Linked DNA regions of Homo sapiens: region 1 is linked to region 2. Evidence: promoter capture Hi-C in human tissues and cell types (Jung and others, 2019). All regions are on one chromosome and are shown on one strand. The core of a region is centred on a gene start or on the middle of the fragment in contact, and the rest is flanking DNA. Distances in the headings are between cores, read along the strand shown.

Evidence for each region. Contacts are between HindIII fragments. The study calls those that stand out against the background at their distance.
Region 1: a fragment that was not itself captured here is called in contact with the fragment with the promoter of OR1I1 in region 2 in 4 of the 25 tissues and cell types used here (bladder, liver, lymphoblastoid cells and 1 more).

Annotation. Positions count from the first base shown.
Region 1 is chr19:14,924,472-14,927,171 of GRCh38, forward strand. No RefSeq gene overlaps it. Among named protein-coding and RNA genes, the nearest start is that of OR7C2, 16 kb to the right of the region's middle. The HindIII fragment of the contact is 7,045 bases long and covers 1-2,700 here.
Region 2 is chr19:15,080,803-15,083,502 of GRCh38, forward strand. OR1I1 (olfactory receptor family 1 subfamily I member 1) reads left to right here and starts at 1,409. Exons shown (of 2, transcript NM_001004713.2): 1 at 1,409-1,474. The HindIII fragment of the contact is 16,029 bases long and covers 1-2,700 here.

The sequences.
Region 1 (2,700 bases), core at 62-2,561, 160 kb before region 2:
TCTAATATTAATGGTGTGACTGGAGGTGAGAACAGCTTGCTATAAACACAGTCCCAGGAGTCCTCATTCAGCTTCAAGTGTGTGCCTGTGTGTGTGTCTGTACTAATTGTGCATATGTGTGTCTGTCTTTAGTGGGGAGAGTGATTTCAAAATAACATCATTAAACAGAATTGAAAGGAGCCTTGCTAATTAACTGAAACAAGATATGAAGTAGCAATAATTTAATGTTTTCAACATGGATAAATAATTAAAGTTGCAAAGACCTAGGCATAAAAGAATATGACATACAAATGAGGTAGAGATATCCCTTTTAAGAGTAGAGGGACGCAGTGGCTCACGCCTGTAGTCCCAGTACTTTGGGAGGCCGAGGCAGGCAGATCACGAGGTCAGGAGATCGAGACCATCCCGGCTAACATGGTGAAACCCTGCCTCTACTAAAAATGCAAAAAAATTAGCCGGGCGTGGTGGCGGGCGCCTGTAGTCCCAGCTACTTGGGAGGCTGAGTCAGGAGAATGGTGTGAACCTGGGAGGCGGAAGTTGCAGTGAGCCGAGATCGCGCCACTGAACTCCAGCCTGGGCAACAGAGCGAGACTCCGTCTCAAAAAAAAAAAAAAAAAAAAAAAAAGTAAAGGGACCTGGACTCAATATATTCCAAAAGGTGACTCAGAATACAGAGGTCAGCACGCAAGGCAGCATATGGAAATAAACAAAGGATGCATTTCAATTCATGGGACATGGAGCCAATTTATTAAAGTGCAAATAGAAAACATCAGGACAAGCCTGGGCGTGGTGGCTCACGCCTGTAATCCCAGCACTTTGGGAGGCCGAGACAAAAGGATCACTTGAGGTCAGGAGTTTGAGACCAGCCTGGCCAACATGGTGAAGCCCCATCTCTACCAAAAAATATAAATCTTAGCAGGGCATGGTAGCAGGCACCTGTAGTCTCAGCTACTTGGGAGGCTGAGGCAGGAGAATCTCTTGAACCCAGGAGGTGGAGGTTGCAGTGAACCCACATCATGCCACTGCACTCCAGCCTGGCCGACAGAGTGAGACTCTGTCTCAAAACCAAACCAAACCAAACAAAATCTGGGCAGAGGGACTTCTTGTATTTTGAAGCTTCAGCAGCAATGAAGTCACCTCATAGTGCAACATCTTCTGACACCATCTCCCATCACTTACCTCTCACAGATTTCCCTGCCACACTGGCTTCCTCGTTGGCCTTGAACATCTGAAACCTTCCTCTACACCTTTGCACCGGCCATTCTTTCTGCTGGGCACACACATTCCCAGATATCCTCATGGCTCCCGCCCTGTCTTCCTTGAGGTCTCATTTCTCTTTTTAAAAATTTCAGCTTTTCTTACAGATTAAAGGGTACATGTGCAGGTTTGTTACACGGGTAAATTGTGTGATGCTGAGGCTTCGGGTCCTAACAATCCCATCACTCAGGAGGTAAGCATAGGACCCAACAGATGGTTCTTCAGCTCACATCCCCCTCCCTCCATCCTCTGTCCAGCGGTCTCCAGTGTCAATTGTTCCCATCTTTGTGTTCACGTATATTCGATGTTTAGCTACCATTTATAAGTGAGAACATGCGATATTTGGTTTTCTGTTCTTGCATTAGGTCGCTCAGAATAACGGCCTCTAGCTTCATCCATGTAGCTGGAAAGGACATGATTTCATTCTTTTTTATGGCTGCCTAGTATTCCATGGTGTATAAGTACCACAGTTTCTTTGTCCAATCCACTATTGATGGGCACCTATCACCTTGACTGCTAGTATTCTCTGGACACCTAGGAAAATTAACATCCTCTATCCACCCTCGCCTTTTTACCTTCTTTCTTTTTCTTGCTAGCCCTGGTTACCATCTGACACAGTATATGATTTACTTGTATTCTTCTCCATACTTCACTGTAGGAACTTTTGTTTTTCAGCACTGTTCACTCATTGTCTAGACAGAGCCTGGAACGTTGACAACACTCAATTTAAATTCCTCAAATCCATGAAAGAATTTATCATTAAAGTATTGGTTTTTGTTTTGTTTTGTTTTGTTTTGTTTGAGATGGAGTTTTGCTCTTGTAGCCCAGGCTGGATGGAGTGCAATGGCGCCATCTTGGCTCCCTGCAACCTCTGCCTCTCAGGTTCAAATGATTCTCCTGCCTCAACCTCCCGAGTAGCTGGGATTACGGGCACGCACCACCACATCCGGCTAACTTTGTATTTTTAGTAGAGATGGGTTTTCTCCATGTTGGTCAGGCTGGTCTTGAACTCCCGACCTCAGGTGACCCGCCCACCTCTGCCTCCCAAAGTGCTGGGATTACAGGTGTGAGCCACCGCACCCGGCAAAGTTTTTAAATAAATGACCATTTGGGGAAAAGTTGAGCATCATGGGAAAGGAATTCCTAAGCAGAGATGGGATGGGAGATCTCATAAAGTAGACCAGATTCACACACAAAATATAGAAATTAACTTGCTGACTGTAGGATATAAATAATAGCTTTTCTGATGGGTGAAAAAAGCATGCTTATGTCATGTATTTTCTCTCTCTCTCTTTTTTTTTTTTTTATAGTCACCTCTACCACATGGAACCAGAGAATGATACACGAATTTCAGAATTTCGACTTCTGGGATTTTCAGAAGAACCCAGACTGCAACGATTTCTCTTTGGTAAAAGGCAAAAGATTTATACAATTTGAAGAGAA
Region 2 (2,700 bases), core at 159-2,658:
CCATGTTGGCCGGGCTGGTCTCAAACTCCTGAGCTAAATTGATCCACCTGCCTCGGCCTCCCAAAGTGCTAGGATTACAGGTGTGAACCACCATGCCCAGCCTCTGAAAATAATTTTAATTTTAAAAAAATAATGACAGTGGGATTGGCACCTACTCATATCCCCATATGTCCAACGCGAAGTTGGTCTACCTTGTTCTTGCTTTGAAGCTGACCTCCCCACAGAGTTACGATCCAAGAGCCAACAGTCCAACAGCCAATATTATTAGGGAAAGTAATTCTAATATTTACTAAAGCCCCTAGGAGAATTTCAACAAGTATCCTACACACGTTCTGTGTGGCTGATAGGAAGGATTTTTTTTTTAAGAGACAGGGTCTCACTCCGTTGTCCAGGTTGGAATGCAGTGGTGCGATCACAGCTCACTGCAGCCTCAACCTCCAGGGCTCAAGTGATCCTCCCACCTCAGCCTCCTGGGTAACTGAGACCACGGGCATGTGCCACCAATCCTGGCTAATTTTTTTAAATTTTTTGTAGATATAAGGTCTTGCTGTTTTGCCCAAGCTGGTCTCAAACTTCTAGGCTCAAGGGATTCTCCAACCTTGGCCTCCCAAGTAGCTAGGATTATAGGCATGAGCCACCGTGTCCAACTCCAGTGCCAAGCAGGTGATCAAGAAGTGTTTGATAGGCCGGGTACAGTGGCTCAGGCCTGTAATCCCAGCACTTTGGGAGACCGAGGAGAGCAGATCACTTGAGGTTTGAGATCAGTCTTTCCAACATGGTGAAACCCTGTCTCTACTAAAAATACAAAGACTAGCTGGGCATGGTGGTGGGCACCAGTAATTCCAGCTACTCAAGAGGCTGAGGAGGGAGAATTGCTAGAACCCAGGAGGTGGAGGTTGCAGTGAGCCGAGATTGCTCCACTGTGCTCCAGGCTGGGTGAAAGAGTGACACTCCATCTCAAAAAAAAGTGTTTGATAAATTTATTTATTTAATACCGATTTATTGATTGATTGATACTCTTCGGAGCTTTCCTTAATGAGCCAGTTTCTTCCATAATGCAATGAATGAAAGGACCTCTCAGATTCAGGCATCTGAGTGCCCGACTGGAGTCTGGGACCCCCCAGACCTCTCTGCCTGGGAGCTTCCATGAAGCTCAGCCTGAGCTGGAAGGAGACCGTAGGGAGATGTCCTAGTGAGAGTGAATCCCTAGTCACTGTTTCCTCTTCTTACCCACTCGATGATCCCAAAGCACACCCATCTCCAAAAGAACAGGTCACATGTGGCAGAGGAGAAACAAAATAATTAGCATCCGCTTCCTTAACAAGGAGCTATGGGGACGAAGTCTCCTAGAGTCCCCAGACTATAAATACCCTGATGTTCCCCTGGCTCCCCCACTCACCTGCAGAGTCTGGGGGCGGGGGGGTACACATATGAATCCTTCCCATAGACATCAGGCTAACCCCAGCGATCACAGGTGAGTAGCCCCCATGCCCTTCCTAGGGGTTTAGTGCTGACCTCGGGATCCTCTAGCAGTTGGTGGAGAAGGAGGCTTCCCGGGACCCTCCCCTTGGTGATGCCATCCTGGTGAGCAGGTGAGGGATGGGGAAAGGATTGAGCTGAGGGTGGGGGTGGAGGGTTGTGGGAGAGGAATCTGTCTCCTTCCTAGAGGCCGAGAGAGAGAGAAGAGACTGAGACCAAGTCTAGACTCTCTGAGTGGACAAAGCACGCAGACGGCAGACCCTCTGTGGCAGGATATGTGGAGGAAAAGCACTGAGGGTCTGCAGCTGCAGGACACCTGCACAGATAGGAGAGGTCTTGAGAAACAAGTTTCTCCAATGCAGCAGCTCCCCAAGTGTGGTCCCTGGGCTAGAAGCACCAGCATCCTCTGGAAACTATCTAGAAGTGCTGGTTCTTACACCAGACATTTCAGGGAAAGGGCTTAGCTTTTTGTGTATGATGAGTTTGGGAGCGGGGGGGAGGGGGCGGGGGGATTGTTTTGTTTGTTTGTTTGTTCTTTCTGTTTTTGAGACAGGGTCTCGCTCTGTTGCCCAGTCTGGAGTGCAGTGGCATTATCATAGCTCATCGCAGCCTCGACCTCCCAAGCTCAAGTGATCCTCCCTCCTCAGCCTCCCGGGTACCTGGGATAACAGACATATACCACCATGCCTGGCTAATTTTATTTTCGTAGAGGCAGGGATCTTCCTATGTTGCCCAGGATGGTCTCACACTCCCGGGCTCAAGAGATCCTCCTACCTTGGCCCCCCAAGCAGCTGGGACTAACAGGTGTGTGCCACCATGTCCAGCTAATTTTTTATTTTGTAGAGATGGGGGTCTCACTGTGTTGCCCAGGTTGGTCTCTAACTCCTGGACTCAAGGGATTCTCCCACCTCAGCCTTCTGAGTAGCTGGGACTATGGAAGCATGCCACCATGCCCAGCAGATTGTTTTATTTTTTGTAGATCCAGGGCGGGATTGGGGGTGGGGTGGCCTCACTTTGTCTGCCAGGCTGGTCTTGAACTCCTGGCCTCAAGCAATTCTCCCACTTCAGCCTCCCAAAGTGCTGGGATTACAGGTGTGAGCCACCATGCCTGGCCCGCTTTTTGTGTTTTAACAAGCCTTCCAGGTGACCCTGAAGCGTGCTCAAGGTTGAGAACCGCTGCTCTATGCAACCCAAGTCAACAACTGAGGACTGTTACAAATA